7 separate regions of the Homo sapiens genome follow, and regions 1, 2, 3, 4, 6 and 7 are each linked to region 5. The links are contacts of gene promoters, found by promoter capture Hi-C in blood cells and fetal thymus (Javierre and others, 2016). All regions are on one chromosome and are shown on one strand. The core of a region is centred on a gene start or on the middle of the fragment in contact, and the rest is flanking DNA. Distances in the headings are between cores, read along the strand shown. Region 1 holds the start of OXSR1 (oxidative stress responsive kinase 1). Region 2 overlaps SERPINI1 (serpin family I member 1). Region 3 has its middle 2.0 kb from the start of ARL6IP5. Region 4 overlaps ATXN7 (ataxin 7). Region 5 holds the start of MSL2 (MSL complex subunit 2). Region 6 holds the start of EIF4A2 (eukaryotic translation initiation factor 4A2). Region 7 has its middle 23 kb from the start of GPR15.

Region 1 (2,840 bases), core at 275-2,774, about 98 Mb after region 5:
CCTTCAGGTCCTAAAACAAATCAAGCTCTTCCCTTACTCAAGGCCACTGCATCTCTATATCCCTCTGTAAGGAAAAATCTTCCCGAGGCTCTTAATCCTCACTTCTCATGCTTCAGGGCTCAACTGAAATGTTATCGCCTCAGAAAAAGAATTTTCCTTGAAATCACCCTAAGTAGATCTCCAGGTTATTCTCTATCAGAACATCTTGTTTATCTCCTTCATGGCACTTGCCAAAGCCTCTTCAAATTTTTTTTTTTTTTTTTTTTTTTTTGAGTCAGAGTCAGGGTTTGTCGCCCAGGCTGGAGTGCAGTGGCGCGATCTCAGCTCACTGCAAGCTCCGCCTCCCGGGTTCAAGGATTCTTCTGCCTCAGCCTCCCGAGTAGCTGGGATTACAGGCGCGCACCACCACACCCAACTAATTTTTGTATTTTTAGTAGAGACGGGGTTTCACCATATTGGCCAGGCTGGTCTCGAACCCCCGACCTCGTGATCCGCCCGCCTCGGCCTCCCAAAGTGGTGGGATTACAGGCGTGAGCCACCACGCCCAGCCCTTCTTACTTCTTTTTGTCTTCTTATTTAATGTCTACCTCCCCGACTGGAAAGTCAGTTGGAAGGAGTCGTAAGTTGGGTCTCGGTTGCTCAGCGCGGTTCCTGCAGCTTCACCTGGAGGATCCCCAGTTCGCCCCAGCACGGATGGAGGAAAAACTTAAAGCTCCCTATCTATCCCACAATCCCAGAAATCGATGGCTGTGCCCACTTCAAGATCCCATTTCTCACACAGCCTCGGAAAGGCCTGTCCCACACCTGCACTTTCTTTCTCTACAAGACACATGGGCCGCTCCTGTCCACACATTTGAGAATCCTGTACACAAATCTCTCCTGAGCCCCCTCAAGCCTCACCCCACCCCACGCCACCTCACAGGCGCGCGCCTCAAAACCCCCTTCCCGTCTCACACGCGCTCCTCGACACAAGCGTCCTACAAGCCCCCAGCCCCACAAGCGCCCCACGAATTCCTATGAGGGCTGCGCTCCCCGAGCTCCCGCGGCTCCCCACGTTCCCGTGTCCCCCGCCTCCCAGCGCCGCGCCTCCCCCCTCCGCAGCGCCTGCTCTCACCGATCACCTCCTGCAGCTCGTAATCGTCCCTGTTGATGGACCAGGGCAGGGCGCTCGAGTCCTCGGACATGACGGCGGCAGCGGCTCGCGGTCCTCCCTCAAACTCGCTGACCTCGCTCGTCTCCTCGCCGCGCGTCTCCCCACCCCCAACAGCCGCCGCCGCCGCCGCCGCGCCCCCACCAATCGTCTCGGAACAGCCACGGGTCGGACGGCGCCGGGGCGCGGGGTCACCGCGCGGCAGAGCAGCGGGGGCTCAGAGCTCCGGCGGACCTCGCCTCCTGCTCCTCCGAGTCCGGCACTGCCCGGCCCAGCCCACGTCCTGTCCTCGGCCTCCGCAGCAGCAGCGACAGAAGCTTTGCCTGGGCCCAGCCCCTCTGTCCCGCCCTCCACCCCAGCCCCACGCACGGGCCAAACTTTCCCCTCTTCCTCCACCTGCCGACACGCAGCGCGCTGACGTCACTGCGCTGGTCACGCCCCACCTCGGGCCCGCCTCCGGCCGCCATCTCCAGTGTGGCTGGATGTAAAGTGAGCAAGCTAGAAACCCGAGAAGGTAGGAGTTCGCGGTGAAAGGGAAGAAGTGCTTAGGTAGAGGTTCATCGAAGGCATCGAAAAGCCGTAGGAGAGCCTCAAGTAGCACAGAGGCAGTAGCCACACTAAGCATGGCGACCAAAGGGCAGCAAAGTAGAAGGGGCAGAGCCACTTCTAGCGCCTGGGGCACGCTGCTGTCTCCGTCGTCGCATTCATTGGTTTGTTTGAGAAGGAATCAGAAAAGCAATGGGTGTGGGTAGACGTCAGTCATAAATTGGTCCCGCCTCCAGGCTCTTAGCGCGCTTCTCCGTGTTAGGGCTGCAGCCCTTCAAGAGCTCCGTTACCGCGCTCGTCTTACCACTTCCTCTGGAGTGACGTCACGGCGTAACCGTCACACCCTCGAGACGTGCGAAAGGCTCTACAGGGTGTGGAGAAACCCTGAGGGAGCGGCTGGGTGGGGTAGCCTTTGGGTGTGGACCACTGCCAACTAGGATAAAAGGCCTTGGGCCACTGGTCGGAGTGAAACTGGAAGTTTGCCTGGTGACATTTTTTTCAAGGCGGACGTTCTCTCTAACGCTTGTCGCGGCGCTGTCTCTCGCGGGTCCACCCTGCACTGGGCGGGTTCTGTCCATTCGCAGCTTTAGATCTGAAGCTCAAATAAGCACCTGCCTTGAGGGACTCGGGAGGTTGTCTTTCTTCCCCCCGGACAGGGCTTGGGGTATTAAACAAGTGAGATCGACCCACGGATTTGGGGGTTGTCTCACGGGCGTTGGCTTTTGTCGCCCCCACTGAACAGTTTTCTCAGTTTGACTACGTACGGCCGTTAGAGAAATTAGCGAGCTGAAGACTGAACACGCTTGGTAAATTGGATTTTAAAAAATAATGAGCATCCAACAGGGATAGGGCTAGGTGCGAAACTGTTCTAGGTTGGACACCTTTCAGTCCAACGGCAGTCTTTAAGGAAGAGACCTTAGGCCGGGTGCGGTGGCTCACGCCTGTAATCCCAACACTTTGGGAGGCGGAGGCGGGCGGACCACCTGAGGTCAGGAGTTCGAGACCATCCTGACCAACATGGTGAAACTCCCTCTCTACTAAAATACAGAAAAATCGCTGGGCGTGGTGGCTGGCGCCTGTAATCCCAGCTACTAGGGAGGCTGAAGCAGGAGGCGAAGGTTGCAGTGACCCGAGAGCATGCCAC
Region 2 (2,840 bases), core at 76-2,575, about 32 Mb before region 5:
TAAATTCTTACAGGTTTAAGATTTAAAAAAAAAAAAAAAAAAGAAACAACAAAAAAATCTCTCCCTTATTTGTGTACGTTAATTCTGATCCCAAAAGCAGTGTTTAACCTTTGGAATTTGCTTAATTAAATAAATGGGCTCTTGCTCATCTTAGTGTCTGGTTCAAGTACCTTTATTATTTTAAAGGGGCAAAACATCAGTTTAGGTATTTACTTTTTGATATTTTGTCCAAATAATGTTTCACTTAGAAGTTAGTGTATACAGGTAGGATTTTTATGGTTAATAATCCATGAATATTCAAAATCTAATGAATACCAGTTTGATTCCAGTTAAAATGGCAATTGACTGGAATCAGACTGGTATTCATTAGATTTTGAATATTTATGGGTTATAAAAGCATAAAAAAGGAAGGTTAATCATCCAAAATTTATTCCAGTAAAAATTGCCATTTTAACTGGAATCAGACTGGTATTCATTGGATTTTGAATATTCAATTTTACTTAGAAAAGTAATGTATCCCAGTATGAATACAGGCCTCTACAAATTAATGACTGGGGGAGAAAAGGTCATGGAATCATGGATTATAGGAATTTAACAAAAAATATAAAATCTTTTTTCTCTTTTGCTAAAGGTGTGTTTCTCAAGTAGTTTTCTTTATATCTATTCCCCTGTATCCTTCTTTACCAAAACCATTTGATCTTGAACCTTTAAGTCTTGCTCTTTTGTGCTGCATGCATCAGTGAATCTTCCTGTTAAAAAGAAATCCATGCTAACTTATTTTTACTCAAAAGGCTTAGAATCAGAACTCTAAAGAAAAGACCAAAGGATATGGTAATTTGAAATTAACCAAGGTTTTTGGCTAAAGAACAATCATCCCCAGAGCAATTTCCATTCAAGAGAGACATTCTGCACTCTGTTGCTTTTCCTTTCTCATCATACATATTCACTGATAGCCATACACAAATAGTAAAATTAAAGAGCAAAATAAGTAATATGCTTATAACATGGGTAGCATTTTACACAGAATTATAAACTGCCATATAACGAACGTTTTCAACACCAATCAAGAAAAATCTTCAGATTACCTGAGATTGAATGTGAATATTAACTAACATGAATCAAGAGTGCAAGGTAAAAAATAAATGCCATATATTTCCAATGATATTCTCTCATATAAAAACATGGTCTTTTTTCAAATGATATTGAAACCCAATCTCTTTTACTGACACAGTAAAAAGGATCCAAATCTTGGAAACAGGTGAAAAAAATCAGTACTTTAATACCACAAACTCATTCATTCCTAATCAGATTCTATCCTTTACCGTGTCTCAGAGCAGAAGACCTATAAAGAGCTGAGATTCAAAGTATATCTTAATTTCAACTGTTTAGATATTTATCTTCTATCCATTTGCTTGCTTATTAACTGTTTCCCAATAAAACTCTTTCAAACAGATCTTTTAATAAAGGCTCGGAAAGAATTTCATTGGTAGTATTATAATTATTACATAGGGGAAATAACCCAGCGACAGCAATTATTCAGTTTTACAAAATGAATTAGTAGTAGGGTCTGAGAAAGAATCTAAGACTGATTCAAGACAATCCACTTAATCACAAATAACAAGGGCAAACACAGTCTTTTCCATGTGTCACCCTAATACCCACTTTTTTTTTTACCCCCAAAATCATTTTCACAGGGCCATATCAGCTATGTGAATTAATAGATTCTCCAGTGCTGTAGCAAAGATAAAACCTGATCCTTATAGTGGTTAAGTTTAGCAGCTACTGTTGCTTTTTCTTTCTTCTAAGCTCTTTGCTGTTTTTGATACTTAGCTGATTTGCTTAGGGGTAATTAAAAAGCAGCTGTTTTTCTATGATCTATCTGTCTATATATTTCTATGGTATGTGAGAGTGTGGGAGGGAAGAGTATACACACTGAAAAGTCACTTAGGCTTATCGGTAGTAGCACTCAGTAGGACTGAACTTTAATCTGGGAAGAGAATTCATTTGAGCCATTTCTTTTCAAAAAGAAATTTGGGATGCATTACAAAAATAAAATTTAAAATCCCGAGAACTCAGGAAAGCATAGAAATAGGAGAAAACAAGACAATTACTCCATTTTATTGACCCTGGTTATTAAAAAAAAACATAAAGTATTGAGACAGACTCTGAAATATGCAACTGTCACAATGAAAGCATTTCAGAGCAAAATTTGCTGCAATATGCTACTATGATTAAAAGCCATGTAATCTGGGAACCTCTGTAACAAAATGAAAATGAACTAGGAAAATAGCTTCTTACTACTTCTCTAAAAATAAAAGGCTGTAATTTTGTCATAATTACACAAAGGTAGGTGAGACTTTCATCTTTACCCAGCATTACAACTTATTTCCATCCATAGGTATTACAATTAACGTTGCTTTGAATGCACATATAGTTTAATACCGAGAATAAACTATTATTTTATGACACTACATGTGTTTTAAACTGAACCCACTATCATAACACATATTAAGGGTAGTCCTTCAGCACATACTCTCTACCCAGAGAAAAGATTCCCACACAGCTTTCCATGTACTCGTTTTTAAAATGTACACATATTATCGGACACAAATGAGAAACTAACGAGCAGCAGTGAGGTACACCATATGTTTCCATTGTAGGCTGAATCCAGGTCTTTGTTCCAATATTCCAGAGCCACTGGGAAGAAAGCTAACTATCCATTCATTAAAATTCATTTTTACATTATTGCTGGCAAAAGTTATACTTTTGATAGATTAAGTCAGAGCCCATCCTATCCTGACTATTCCTGCCTGCACTTGCTTCTTTAATACGGATTTCTT
Region 3 (2,963 bases), core at 326-2,825, about 67 Mb after region 5:
ACTTCTCTTCTTTGTTCTCCACCTCTGTTCTCTCTAGGCTAAATTGTTGGACTGCTATGCCATTCTGATAAAGTAGGCACTCTGGCCACTTCAGTCCTGAGCTGGGCATGTTGCTTACATTTTAAAGCAAACAGTTGTCTGCAGTGAACTAGTTGTTCTGCATCCAGCATTTTCTGGGCAGAAATATGCATTCCACTTCAAAAGTTTTCTTAGTTTTATTGCAATATTTGGTGACAGCTTTCACTGAGGGACCACAATATATTCATAGATAACGTGATGTTTTGTATCCCAGCCCAAAGACCTGGCAAAAGAAGTATTCGTTGTCAATTCTCTTCTAAGCTTCCAAGGGTCATCTTTTTTCAGTTAAGGGGCTGATTGGTACAATGCATGAGAAAAAAAGTAGTTTGTTTAATTGTATAATGTAATAGGTAGAATTCTAAGGTGAAGATTTCTAAGATAACAGAGTCTCTAAGCCCCTAAGTGGCTTAGACAAGGTGAATTCACTCTACTCAGATCACCAATTTTTGAAAACTTGGAAAGTAATGAAATATACTAATGCAAAGTCTAGAAAACATAATTTAATTTTCCTTATTAATTCAGAAGACAGTTAAGGAGCTTACAGCGACTCTAAGAAATTACTACTACTACTGTTGTTTAGGAAAATTTGGTGATTGCATGGAATTAGTGCTAAGATATATCTTATGTGCTGCTTTTTGAATAAAGTTTAAAATGTGAAAATATTCCTGAGTGCTCATGTTTTCTTGATTCTGGAAAAATGGGATGGTGTGAAGTCAGAGAAAGCAAAATTAGAGTCGCAGCTCCTTCCTCTCTGGCAGGTGACTTTGGAGAAACTACTTAATCTCTCCCAGCCTCGGTGTCTTCATGTGTAAAGTGGGGATAATGGAACATCTGCCATATAGACGAGGCTAAGTGAAGGAATGTATAGGAAATGCTTAGTGTATAATAAAGGTTCACAGTTATATGTTACTATTATTGTTATTAGCAATAGGATAGCCCACGATTCTTGTTTGCTATTAATAGTGCTTTAATCTGATTTGTTTTCTATGCTTTCATTATAAACATCTACTAACTTTTCTCTACCTTGCTCCAACTTTATTGTTGTGGATGTATCTGGGTAGGGGGAAAAGGTTGAGAATATTCAGTACAATGCCAGCAAGTATTTCGAGTTCTTTTGAGGCTCTGTGAAAGCACTGTGGGTTTTTTTTCTTTTCTTTTCTTTTTTTTTTTAAAGAGGAGAAAAATGTAATCCTGCTCTGCCTTCAAAACTTCTGCAATCCAGTGGAAACACTAGTTAAATATGAGACAGTAAGAGGAGTGCTAAATAGAGATGCACTGAGCCTCAGTGCTCAGTTACAGGAAGTCAGAGGGTGTGGAGGAATTCCCCAGGGCTTCAGAATGTCAAGAGGCAGCACTGTGGGCAAGCTGAGTAAATCATCTTGGTCAAGATGAGAGTGGGAACTCCAGTGGGGCCCCACACTGTTGGTGAGATTTATGAGTATTAGAAGCTGTAACTAAGAACTTTATCTTCCAACTGCTCAGAACTGCATGACCAAAAGCTGTCAAGAGTGTATTAGTAACAATATGATTACTCCTTGATCACAGGCAATTGATACCCAAGAAAGAATTAAACCTCTTTAGAGGTTTAAACATAAATAAATAAATTCTGAAAAGACAGAGAAAGCTGTTTATAGCATGATTCCCTTCTGTCTCCCTCCCAAAATGTTAACCCTGTCTCTCTCTTTGGGGTATGGGAGATTTTTTTTTTCTCTAAATATTTCTACCTTTGTTAAATTATTTTAAATAAAAATGAACATGTAATGAGTCATTACTTTTTTCCAGTAACTGTTTGAAATGCTATTAGTAGCAGCTCTTTGTTAGTGTTCATTCCGGGGAGGGAGGGGTCAGATTCACTGTAGAGGTCTTTCTGGAGCTTTAATTTATTATTATTTTTAGAGACAGGGTCTCACTATGTTGCCCAGGCTGGTTTTAAACTCCTGGGCTCAAACAGTCCTCCCACCTCAGCCTCCCAAGTAGCCGGGACTACAGGTGTGGGAAGCCGAGCCCTGCTTGATGGGGCTTTTATAATGGGACTGGTGTGTCTAGATAGGACCATTCAGACTATCTGTCTGTTTAAAAACCATAGCAGATAGTCTAATTGTTTATGATATGTTCCATTTGAAGTAAAATAAATCTGTTGAAGGTTTTGCTTGCATGTCTCTGTTGCTTTCATTCCTGGCAAGGGCAGATGGCTATTTCTAATCCGTCAATCAATCTAAGCCAGTGAGAGTGCCTGGTGTCGTTTATCAAAATACCACCATGGTGAGTCAGGCTGTTAGTCTCAAAGCAAGCAGATGCAGGGCCAGATACCTTTGCAGACTTCTTCATCGGCTAGCTGTACTCTATCCCTAGGCCTCAGTTTCCTCCCCTGTGAAATGGGTGAGACTGGACTAGGTGGCCTTTAAGGTGACTGCTGCTTTTCACTATCTGAGAGGGTTGCAATGCTCACTACCACTAATCAAAGGGTATCCAGTATTGTTGGGGGTTCAGGCTACAGGAGCCCATTTTGATAAGCACTGAGGTTAAATCCTCAGTGAAACCATCTGTGGAGTTGTCTGGGCAAGAAAAAGTAGTTTCATAGTTGACGCTGAGACATGTGATGCAGAAGGAGGCTGGTATCTCTTGATAGGGACTGTGAACTCTATTCCCACGCTCACTGCCTGGCATTGACTTTCAGCTCAGTGAATGCTATTGAACTGAACCTAATTGGGGGACCATAAAGGACAAGCTTTCCTTAAGGTTCACTGAAAACTAGGACAAGAGGAGGTTAAATATCACAGTGTAGTAACAGCAGCTACATTTACTGAGTACCCATCAGGCTTTATGTACTCCATTTCAGTGGCCCTCAAACTTTACCAGTGGAGAATCACCCCAGGCTTTGCAGA
Region 4 (2,700 bases), core at 67-2,566, about 72 Mb after region 5:
TGCTCAGAGGACCTGGCGCGGAGGCCAGCGCCGGAGCGGCCCGGCTCCAACCCCGCGCCCCACCATGGCAGCCCGCGCGGGGAAGCCCGAGCCGCACCCCAGGACCTCCAGCTGCCCACCCTTCGGCCGCTTGCATCCCCGGGCCCGGCCCGGCTGCCCCGCTCCTTCCTTCCGTCCGCGCGTCCGTCCGAGCGGCGGCACCCGGCCGGCTCCCTTAAGCGGAGACGCCTCCCGCCGCCTCCTCCCACTTGCCGGTCCCTCCCTCTCAGCTCGCTCCGGCGAAGTTTGCACGTCAAGCCCCCGGACTGGAGCCAGGGCGAAGTCGGAAATGCAGCCACCTATGGAGGAGCCGGCCGGCCGGCCCCAGGGCAGCGCGGGAGAGGCTGGTGCAGGGGGCACTTTGCCCTCGGCTTGCGGGCGGCCGCAGAGTTGTCAAAAGCATGAATGGGAAGCCGCCGCAGAGCGGACTCCGGGCGTGCAGGGAACCTTGGGCTAGCGGGGAAGTGCCTCCCAGGTGTCTGCCCAGGTGTCAGGACGAAGTACCGTGTGCACGCCACGCCGCCCACATGTGTGCCCCCGACCCGCAATTGGAAGTCACACTGTGCGCCTGGGGAACTTGAATTCGTCCAGCAAAGAGAGAACATGAGATCAGTGTGCGAGGGAATGGAGGAGAGTGAAACAAACCGAGAGAAGCTTTAACCCGTGTACATATTTTAGAGGCACCACCCCAAGTTTCTGGAAGTGATTCATTCACCCCAAAAGTAAAAATCTGATTCATTTTTAACTTGAGTTGTTAGTCCTTCCCTCTTTATGGTTGTCTTTTCTTGGGCAGGACGAGACCCTAGGGATTAGGAGAATATAAGGAATTCCTACAAAACATGTTTAGAAAATACTGTTTTCGGTCAAATTTTGTTCACTAAATTAAGCATTGGCCCGCAAAACTTAGCACCCCTCCCCAACATACACAACATTTGCTTAGCGATAGGCTACAGATGGCAAAATAAAAGGCTACTTAATGACCTAAAGCATTAAAAATACTTGAAACAGTAGCAGACCACACCACTTTCAATAATTGTTGATATTACTATTTTCTCAAATTGATGTGAAAATTTGAAGCCTGAGACAAAAACAGTGATTCTTATCAGCATGTTTCACGCATGTTTCACACTGCAGTAGTATCAACTCCTGTAATGTGTGTCAGAGATGCTTGCTCACAAGTGCTTTCTCTGACTAGATGGGGAGGAAGTGGAATTCTTTTTTTTTTTGTACCTCAAACATCTGATGTGACAGAGGTAGCCAACTTCTTTGTTGGTCCAACTTGCAGAAACACAGGAAGTTTACATAAGCATAAAAATTAATAAAGAAATGTCACTGCAACCCAAACATAAGGTGGGATTGCTAGAGAGGGTTTGGGGTTCAAAATTTAAAAGCGCACACACACACACATACTTACACATACACACACACACACACATTTTTATTTTAGAAAGATTTAGAAATAAGTCTGTAAAATTTTTTCCTGGATTGCGTGCAAACAAGTCCAAAAAGTGAAACCATGGTTACTTCCTGTCCTTATCAAAATAACCAAAATAGTAGAAATGATTGGAAAGATTTAATTTTAAAAATCATTTCTACAGCTTTAACTTCCTCCATAAGACTATCAATGAGAAAAATGCACAGGAGTAAAACATATAATTCCCTTGACAGGAATAGAGTTCCCTTCTAACTTTTAACATAGCTTAGATGACCCCTATGCAGATTTTCAATTTTTCATTCATTCCAAATCACTGCAAAATCTGAATAATTACATGAAAACACCCAACCTCTGTTTTCCTAAAGTACACAATTTATTACTTGGAATTGTGAAATTCTACACTTAAGAAAAACGAAAATTTGGATTTTAACGGCATTTGAAGCTACCATTGAAAAGAAAAGCTTGCGGCCACCAAGCCATATAGATAACAAAGGGAGCTTGCTTGTTGAGTACAGCTCTTCAGATCCCTGAAACTACAGAGTGAGAACAAAAATAAGGAGAATGGCAAACATGAAGTATGGTCCTACTTCCTCAAGACATTGCTTGACTTTCCTCTTTTGGATGTGAAACTACTTCAAGATTCACTAATATGACTTCTAGCCAATGGGGATCAATGCAGCAATTTAGAGTACTTCAACTTCTTTCCCAATTCCTGCTTGATACCTCTTTTTTTCTTCAAAGTTTTTGATTGGTTTAATAAAACACAAGCGGGCTTAAAATGAAAAATATTAAGTATCCTCTTGGCATTATGATCGTTATTAAGGGAAATTATTACAAATAGCAGTTACCAATTATTGAGTACCTCAATACTCAAAACTAATAGCAAGCTATCAATTATTGAGGAATCTCATAAATAAGCACTATAAATAAGTGTCTTATATTAAACTGAGCAATTCAGCTCAATCCCTTAGGAAACTTACTATCAAACTGAAGAGGATGTGCAGACAAGAGATTGACGGGCATTTCCTGGTATTTCTTCAACCAGTTCTCTTTTGCTGCAGCCAATGCATTTTACCCACTCTTTCTTCACCCATAAAAAAGTCCTAACTCCTAGAAATGTTCTGATATCCATAGTCGTTAGAAGTTTCCTTAAAGTTGGAATGAGTCACCAAAAAAAGTCAAAACAGCAAGCTGACACACTGCATCTGATATCTGAATTTTGGCAA
Region 5 (2,738 bases), core at 173-2,672:
TCCTACTCACCTCAAGTGGCAGCTTGTAACTAACACGTACCACATTTACATGTTCCATATACGTGCCTGTGTACATATGTAACATGTGCCACAATAGATTTACACGCATCATAATTTTCACTTTGCAAACGTATAGAGTACCTACTGTGCATGAAAAATTATGCTGAGGAGCTTTGGTGTGTACAGAGATAAGAAATGCTTCCTATGGCCTGTTACTATTTGTGCTACTCAAAAAAAGGTTTTGTACTTTGAGATGGGAGGGAAGTCATCTACTAAGTCAGGCTTTTGTTTATTTATATCCCAGTGCCCTTGATCTCCTGCAAAAACAAAAGGCAAAAGCTTGTTTTAAAAAACAAAACATTTGCAAGGATTTGGGTTTGTTCTAGAGCAAGATCACGCATTCTTCAAGACATCTGTTCACACAGAAGAGCTAGGTCTTTTAAAAAAGCTAGGTCTTTCAAAAAAAAAAAAAAGGAGTTCGTTTTGTTTTTAAAACAGGACTCTGTTCCGGTGAGAGCTCGGTGAAGTCCTGATCGGCACCCATGAAGGTGAGGCCGCACGAGTCCAAGGGCCAGAGGCCGTGGGAACAGCGCGGGTCCGACGGGTAGGAGGGGGCAGTGGGTTCGAGCCTCCACGCTTACATACAGCCTGCCAGGGCCTTAGAGCCCTCTGACTGCGAACCACCGCAGAGAGGTGCGGAACGCGGCCCCGACCCGGCAAAAGCCGTCCGCACGCCTGCTGGGCGCGCAGCCACGTTGACTACTGCAGCCTTCCCGGCTCGGCGAGAGCCTGCCAGCCAGCCGAGGCTGCGCCCTTTCCGCGGTCGGGATGAGCGGTTCCAGGAGAAAGGCCGCGAGGGCGGGGCTTGGGGCCTGGCGCGGCTATTTCCTCACACCGCGGTCAGTCAGGACGAGAGGCCGCGTTCAGGCCAGTGCAGAGCGCCACATGGCGCTACCAAGTCGGGCCCCGGCGTTGGCGGGCACAGAAGCAGTGTAATGCGGGAAGCCTGCAGCCCACACTGGGGAAGGATGTGCCAGCTAACGAATGTTTCACCACAGCCCACATGCCTGGGAGAGGGAATTTGAGAGCACGTGGGGGAGGGGCGAAGAGAGCTGTCGGCTCGCAGAGAGCATGCTCCATTCTGAGAGTCGAAGTGGAGAGCCAGGCATGCGCAGTGAGCCCAGGGTGGGTTGGCAGCGGTGAGGGACTGGCGCGAGCAGGCTGATGTGTTTATCCGGTTTTCTGGGTGGGCGGTCAAAGCGCACGCGGAAGGGCGAAAGGCGGCGGAGCTAGGTAGCAGCTTGCGCATGCGTGGAGTGAGCCGGTAGCTCTGGGAGGCTGTGGAGGGGGTTGTTAGAGGAGAAGCAAGGGAAAAGGGAAGCGAAGGGAGAGGAAAGGGGGGAGGGGTGAGAGTGTGCTCTGCGCATGCGTGCGAGCGCTAGCGACGACGGCGGCGGGGGAGTCTCGGGGATGACAGTGGCTTTGCCCGTTGGGGTAACGGTCGTCGTCGCCGCCAGCAGAGGCCTGAGGCGCCACACAGCCCGCGGGATCCATTAAGGCCGCAGCAGCCCGGGCCCTACCGAGCTGGAGTGGCGCGTGGAGTCGGGGTGAGGGCGGCGAGGCACGGGGGAGGGGCCTGCGGCGGGGCCTTGCTGTGTGCGCTGGGCGGCGGCGGGGCCTGGCGGTGTGAGCGCTTGCCTTCCGCGGCCGGGGAGTGCTGAGGGCGGCGGCGGCCGTCGTGCTCGGCGGAGGAGTCGTCTGTGTGTGTGGCGCCGAAAAAATGGCCGGGCAGTGAGGGGGCGGCGCTTGAGTCTGGTGACCCCGGAGTGTGCGACTGAGGCGCGAGGGGCGCCGCCGCGGCCCGGCCGGGCTTGCCCCCCGCCCCCTCCCGCCCGCCGGCGGCGGCCCGCGCACTTCCTCCCCGGCCTTCCCCTCCGGGTTGAGGACTCCCGCCCGCCTCGCCACCTCGGGGAACTGCGGGCTGCAACCCACGGGGCGGAGAGCCAGGGCGCAGTCTGGGCCCCGCGTCCGATATGGAGAGCGCGGCGGCGGCGTCCGCCAGCCGCAACATCAACCTTCGTCGCCGCCGCGGCGTCTTGCACTAGATCCGGGAAGCCGCTGCCCGACCGTCGTCCTTGCCGTCGCCGCCGCCTCCGCGCCCTGTACTGGGATGGAGTAAGAGGCCCTGCAGCCCGGGAGAAGCGTGCCGCGCCTCAGACGGGGCCGGGGCCTGCTCCCGCGCCTGCCAGCTCGACTTGAGGAGGCGCCTCCGTGTCCGGAGATGGAGCTCGAGTGCAGGCCGCCTGCCGAGCCGCGGGGCTAGACTGAGCTCCGAGTCCCGCCCCGAGCGCCCAAGCCGCCGCGTTCTGCGCTCTGTGGTCGCTCCGGACGAACTCGAACGCTGGTTTCTCTCTCATATTTTTGGTCTGGAAGTCTCAGGGACGGAGGGGCGCCAAGGCCCCATGTGTGGGAGGATTGTTTCAGCTCCACAAACTTGCACGGATTTTGGTTACTTGTTTGGCCAATGGTTCGGCTCTGATTTCTTCCGAATTGTTGCAAATTCGCCATCGTTCCCTGGCTGCTTACTAAGTTGGATCCGGAATTTCTTTTCAACCGGGAGCCATTGGTGTCGAAGTGTCTGCAATGAACCCCGTGAATGCTACTGCTCTCTACATTTCCGCGAGCCGCCTAGTGCTCAACTACGACCCCGGAGACCCCAAGGCGTTTACTGAGATTAA
Region 6 (2,700 bases), core at 38-2,537, about 51 Mb before region 5:
TGTGAAACCTGAAACCTATGCAACACGCAAGCAGTTTTTTTGAACTACACTATCAATACCTGTTGAGCCAGTTCTCTGGTGGGGGCCAATACTAGTGCTTGGGTCTCCTTGAACTCAATCTCCAACTGTTGCAGGATGGAAATAGCAAATGTGGCTGTCTTGCCAGTACCTGACTGAGCTTGAGCAATCACATCATACCCTAAAAAAAGTAGGATACACATTTACCGATCCCACATCAAATTGTCACTTCTACTTCACACCATGTATTCCATTTGGAACATTATGCCCAAATAATCAAGTGATCAGCAATGAGTATTCTCTTCATTTCAGGTCAGTCCCGAAAGATGATTGCCATCATTTCACTTTAAGGAATACAAACAGGTGCTAGTCCCCCAGAGGTTACTTTCCCTTTTATGGTTCATGTCTATGTAGAACAATTTCCTAAAAATGCCAGTTTCTTTTACCTTTAATACAGGGAATAATAGCTCTCTGCTGAATAGCGGAAGGCTTCTCAAAACCGTAAGCATAGATGCCACGAAGGAGAGACTCCTTTAAATTCATATCATCAAAGTTATCAACAATCTCATTCCAGTTGCTCTGTAAGTTAGAAAAAATAATGCACGCATAAATGAGATGAACACACTCACCTTTCCAAAGCTTCAAGATCCACAACCGTTTCTTACCTCGATGACACCATCGGGGTCCATTCCCTCTGGGCCGCCATGTTCTCTGCTGACAAGAATACTGCAGTCAGACACCCCTTCCAGGCCACCTCAACTGCACCTTAAGCGCATAGCCCTTTGCAACCCGTCTCAGCACGTTAGCCTCCCCTGCACAAGCTAAAGCAGCAGCCTCAGGGCGAATATCCACACTGTGCGCCTTCCCTAAAGGTTGGGGCCTGCGGATGCCCGGAAAGGCAGCCCCCCAGGCCCGAGCGCATGGCGATCCCGTTTCAACTGCGGAGCGTCTCGCGAGAGCTCGGAGCGCCGAACTCCGCCCCCAACAATGCGCAAGCCGGGTGATTGACGCGGGCGGAGCGGCCTGGCGAGGGCGATGCCAACGGTTCACCGGCACCGGTCCTGTCCCGTCGCCTCCGCGCCGTGGCCGAGTGGAGACCGCTGCCTCCAACCCTTCCCCAAGTAAAGCCTAGGACCCTCCCCCAACTCGTGTGGATGACCGAAAATAAAGCTTCGGGTCCTGGTTACAGTGTACCGAACTCGGACTGCGCCACGGCTTTTTACTCCATGTTTCCCGTGCTCTACACTGGGAAGGAAAGCAGCCGAAGTTTCGTAATGTCTTAGAGAGGAAAAACGCCCTTTAGCCACTGCTTTCGCACCACCGTCCTATCTCCCCACAATCCGGGCCCTACCCATCATGGAAGCTTCTGGAAGGGCACAGGAGTGCTGTACCCTAAGAAAACGTCCATTAATTTAGAGTTTTTGCCTCCGTGCCATCCACTATCATCTCCCCTGGCGCCCTATGACCTTCACTACAGACCGCGACCGCCAACAGACTGCATACCTGTTATAATCCGCGGAGCCACCAGACATGATCCGAAAAACCACTCAGCGCCCGACTGAAAAGACAGCGGCGCCCAACCACCCGTTTTTTATAGGCTCGTGGCCGGAACCCGTTTCTTGCGGAGGAATTTTCTCGCCGTGCTTCGGTCAGCTACAAAATTGTGATCCTGGGGTCGTTACCTCGGATAAAATCCTAAGCAAGTTGGTAGAAAAACCCAAATGTGGTAATTTCTCGATATTACAGGGTCGCTGGAAATCCTAGGGCCCGGGGTTGGGTTGGGACTCTTTACCTCGCGGCGGAAGAATATAGCTGCGGAGTTAGTTAAACCTCGCTTTCCCCGCCCGCCCTGCTCCTACGGGGTTTCCGCGTCCCTGACGCAGAGGCGGGCCGGGGGAGCCGCGCCGGAGCCGGAGGCGGAAACCGGAGATGCTGTTCGTCGGGCGGCCGGGGCTTCCCGCGGGTGACAGGTCCCGGCTCGCGGCTCGCTGCCGGCACTCAGGTGCGGGAGGGGAACTCGGTTATTCCGCTTGCTCCCACCGCTGTTTAATTCCACAATGAAGACCTGCCTGGCATTTAGCCCGACCGTTAACATCCATTCAGATCTTGGAAACGTAAAATTCCTGCTAGGGAAAATGTCGGCCACCCAGCGAGTCCCGGGAAGTCCGGTTTACCGGTACATTTTGCAGCGCGAGAAGGAAAAATGGAGTGTCATTTGCAGATGTCTCTGGAGTGGCCAATTCTATTCTCATATCATTTCCGGTCTCTCGCTTTCTTTTTAAGAGTGTTACTGATTTTAACCTAACAGGTGTGAGGAATGCCTGAAAAAAATCATAAACTTTTGCAAATGGATAGAAACTAAGCAGTAATTTTCCTTGGAACGCACGAATTTAAATGGACGCTTTGGCAGATACAGCTCTGTGCCGCTTTGGGACTACATCGGTTTTGATTCCGTCTATATTGGTCATTTTTTAAAGGCTGTAGACTTTGCCGATATATAGTGAAATGTTGATTTATTGAAATTCAGAGCAATAATATCCTTGCTGCGTAAACTGCACGGGTCTTTAAGCTCCAGACGTTTTCAATTAGCCCCATCTCAGGTCTCTCGACAAAAACAAAAAACAATATATGTAGTCATTTAACTTTAAAATACAACCCTACCCATGGTGCAAAATATCATCG
Region 7 (2,700 bases), core at 101-2,600, about 38 Mb after region 5:
ATTCTGCAAAATTTTATGAAAAGACAATGTAGTTTTGCATAGTAGATGAGGGCAGAAATGTTTACTTTCCTAATTACCAGTTACCTCCTGGTCAACAAGTACAATCTGAGATCTTTTTGCTTACGTAGCGCTGTCAATTTCCTTTTTTCACCTGAGATAATCTTTTGTTTCGATAACTGTTTTCATAACCCATGCCGTGTTTTTTCCTCTGTTGTTTTTCTTTTTCTTTTTCTTTCTTTTTTTTTTTTTCAGACGGAGTTTCGCTTTTGTTGCCCAGGCTGGAGTGCAATGGCGCCATCTCGGCTCACCGCAACCTCCGCCTCCTGGGTTCAAGCGATTCCCCTGCCTCAGCCTCCCGAGTAGCTGGGGTTACAGGCATGTGCCGCCATGCCCTGCTAATTTTGTATTTTTAGTAGAGACGGGGTTTCTCCATGTTTGTCAGGCTGATCTCAAACTCTCGACCTTAGGTGATCCGCCCGCTTCAGCCTCCCAAAGTGCTGGGATTACAGGCGTGAGTCACCACGCCTGGCCCCGTTTTTCTATTTTTTAAACTACAGTAATTCTCTTTGATTTAAATATTTGTAAAGATATGTACAATAAAACTATTCTTAAATCATAGGGGAAAACAAAATATGGAGCAATAGAGCAATTCTAAATGAAATGCAAGCCTAAACTACTTTTTTAACAAGCTTTGTAAATAATCACTTGTTTGCAAAGGAGGTGGTGATTCATGTGAGAGGAGTAGAAAGAAAGATTTTGGTCCCTTTGAAATTTTATTATTGTTCTTCTAAGTACATCGTCTAGAAAGAAAGCAAACCAATAGCGTTTTGGAATTGTTTAGTCACTAATTGTATTCCATGAGCATTCTTTCTGGTTCACTGGAATTCAGTGTATAAGTCTGGGGACAAAGTGAAGCTCTGAAGTTATGAGCTTTGGACAGCAGGATGGCGAATTAAGGTGGTGGAAAAGGAAACTTTGATGTTGGAGAAACTGGTGTAGCTCAGAACGTAGAACAGAAAAAGCCAACTATTTGGCCAAAGTATCCATCTTTTAAAGAGATACAGTTTTAATCAAGTGAACAGGTAGGACTTCAGTCTGGGTGTTTATTTTTGTCTATTTATACAAATTCTTTATCACTCAGATCAAAGAGTTTGCATTAGGTAGTATTATGTTTCTATATTTTCTTAAATCAATATACACAATGAATTGTTATTAGATCATAAGAAATGCCAAACTGGATCAGATTTACAATTCATCCACCCAAATCCTACCTGTTTTAGACCAATCCAGGGATATTATGTATGGCGACCTGGTGGTTACTCTCCAGACAATTTTTAAAGTCTAGGATGAGCCTATATACAATGCCTAAAACAGTATCTGGCAAGTGTTTGGCTTGGTAATGGTTGATGTTTGTTGAACAAATGAGTGAAAGATAAAAATCTACCATCATGCAATTATCTACATTCTCCTGAAGCTAATCTTTTGTGTTATGTATCGTGTATGACAAGTCTTTTGTTCTAAGTGTATTACATTGTCTTTTTTCCCTTTTTTCTTTCCTTTCGTTAAAGTGTATTTACATTGTCTTAAAAATTACTTATCTTAAGCATCAAGAGAGTTCTTTTCCAACTTTAGTGTTACAGAATTTGATTTGATTAGTCTTAAAGCATTAGACAAGGAGGGAATGATGTACCCCCTCATTTGATGTGCTCCCCACCCCAGTTGAACCCCAGTCTTACTTGGAAGTGGAAGGATTCTGGCTCAGGTTGTAAACAGTAAACCATAAGAAGACAAACTGTTTTGCAGAGTATTTTTAGTAAGTAGCCTGGCCTACCTAAAGGATAAATGTTAATTAGTTATGATTTCTACTTAACATATGGAATGTTACAAGATTAACAGGAGCAGATAAGAAAGAGAAGCATAATTGATTAGTAATGCTGGTAAAAGGTTAATTACAGGGAATGATCTATTTCTATGAGGTAATGATTTATTACATAGATCCTAACAAAGCTTTTATAGTATATATTAATAGCACTTTGAAAGGCCTGAAGGGACTAAAAGAGGAAGGACACAGAAGCTACTTCCTTTGGCCAACAGAGAATTTGTTGACAGAGAAACTCACTACCATATTTTACAATTTCCAGGAACTGGAAGCAGTTGATTAGCCACATCTGTTGTGAGTATGGGTGTGAAGTGAGGAAGTACTTTGCCATATATTCGCTAGTCCAGTACTTTGCCATATACATATATTTCCTAAACCTTGCAGGAATTTGGCTTATTCTTTTGGGTAAAAATGCAATTAAGAGAAAAGATCTAACTGAAGTTTTTAAATGAAGAAATATACTGGACAGCGCAGGACACACGAGAAGGTCCTCAGATGAAACAACTCTATGCTAAGGCTATGAAAGTTTGACTCCAGTGGCCTTCTGAAACAATGCTGGGAATTTAAGATAGGGCTCTAGAGCTTACTTCCTTCCAGTTTAAATCTAGGAATTTGGTCCATGAGTTAATTTTATTCACACTGAGTGTATCCAAAGAAAAATAAGTTTTTCCTGTATTTCATTAGAAAGAATAACAAGTAGCAAACTTTCAGAACGTTTTTTTCCCCAGTACCTTAATCTCAGGTAGAGGAGCATATTTAAGGAGTCATTTTAGATTAAGATTGTACTCACACCTAACCCACATCAGAAAGTCAGTGTTGTT

What was found. The method cuts DNA at HindIII sites, captures the fragments that hold promoters and counts their contacts. A CHiCAGO score of 5 or more calls a contact.
Region 1: the fragment with the promoter of OXSR1 here is called in contact with the fragment with the promoter of MSL2 in region 5 in 1 of 17 cell types (total B cells); the score reaches 6.4 in total B cells.
Region 2: a contact is called between a fragment that was not itself captured here and the fragment with the promoter of MSL2 in region 5, in 1 of 17 cell types (non-activated CD4 T cells). The highest score is 5.8, in non-activated CD4 T cells.
Region 3: a contact is called between a fragment that was not itself captured here and the fragment with the promoter of MSL2 in region 5, in 1 of 17 cell types (total B cells). The highest score is 5.2, in total B cells.
Region 4: a contact is called between a fragment that was not itself captured here and the fragment with the promoter of MSL2 in region 5, in 1 of 17 cell types (activated CD4 T cells). The highest score is 7.7, in activated CD4 T cells.
Region 6: a contact is called between a fragment that was not itself captured here and the fragment with the promoter of MSL2 in region 5, in 1 of 17 cell types (total CD4 T cells). The highest score is 7.0, in total CD4 T cells.
Region 7: a fragment that was not itself captured here is called in contact with the fragment with the promoter of MSL2 in region 5 in 1 of 17 cell types (activated CD4 T cells); the score reaches 5.2 in activated CD4 T cells.

Annotation. Positions count from the first base shown.
Region 1 is chr3:38,164,221-38,167,060 of GRCh38, reverse strand. OXSR1 (oxidative stress responsive kinase 1) reads right to left here and starts at 1,524. Exons shown (of 18, transcript NM_005109.3): 1 at 1,115-1,524. The coding sequence starts at 1,184. LOC101928234 (a long non-coding RNA gene) reads left to right here and starts at 1,585. Exons shown (of 5, transcript XR_940733.2): 1 at 1,585-1,664. RefSeq lists silencers at 1,030-1,079, 1,130-1,519 and enhancers at 751-1,366, 1,760-1,859, 2,130-2,259, 2,410-2,489, 1,650-2,840. The HindIII fragment of the contact is 1,868 bases long and covers 1,470-2,840 here.
Region 2 is chr3:167,736,314-167,739,153 of GRCh38, reverse strand. All of the region lies in intron 1 of SERPINI1 (serpin family I member 1), which reads right to left. Among named protein-coding and RNA genes, the nearest start is that of SERPINI1, 2.0 kb to the right of the region's middle. The HindIII fragment of the contact is 3,664 bases long and covers 1-2,840 here.
Region 3 is chr3:69,081,469-69,084,431 of GRCh38, reverse strand. No RefSeq gene overlaps it. Among named protein-coding and RNA genes, the nearest start is that of ARL6IP5, 2.0 kb to the left of the region's middle. RefSeq lists enhancers at 1,332-1,491, 2,296-2,355. The HindIII fragment of the contact is 2,467 bases long and covers 342-2,808 here.
Region 4 is chr3:63,909,601-63,912,300 of GRCh38, reverse strand. The region is part of intron 2 of ATXN7 (ataxin 7); the gene reads right to left. It also overlaps SCAANT1. Among named protein-coding and RNA genes, the nearest start is that of ATXN7, 47 kb to the right of the region's middle. RefSeq lists a silencer at 1-239 and an enhancer at 570-649. The HindIII fragment of the contact is 1,242 bases long and covers 696-1,937 here.
Region 5 is chr3:136,195,019-136,197,756 of GRCh38, reverse strand. MSL2 (MSL complex subunit 2) reads left to right here and starts at 1,422. Exons shown (of 2, transcript NM_018133.4): 1 at 1,422-2,738. The coding sequence starts at 2,644. RefSeq lists enhancers at 875-1,174, 1,345-1,394, 972-1,718, 2,345-2,414, 1,719-2,465 and 2 more and a silencer at 1,615-2,004. The HindIII fragment of the contact is 2,546 bases long and covers 342-2,738 here.
Region 6 is chr3:186,782,461-186,785,160 of GRCh38, reverse strand. EIF4A2 (eukaryotic translation initiation factor 4A2) reads right to left here and starts at 1,584. Exons shown (of 11, transcript NM_001967.4): 1 at 1,522-1,584; 2 at 684-729; 3 at 465-597; 4 at 60-199. The coding sequence starts at 1,550. SNORD2 (small nucleolar RNA, C/D box 2) reads right to left here and starts at 365; the gene lies at 296-365. RefSeq lists an enhancer at 679-908. The HindIII fragment of the contact is 193 bases long and covers 1,191-1,383 here.
Region 7 is chr3:98,553,408-98,556,107 of GRCh38, reverse strand. No RefSeq gene overlaps it. Among named protein-coding and RNA genes, the nearest start is that of GPR15, 23 kb to the right of the region's middle. RefSeq lists enhancers at 1-74, 1-325. The HindIII fragment of the contact is 1,318 bases long and covers 692-2,009 here.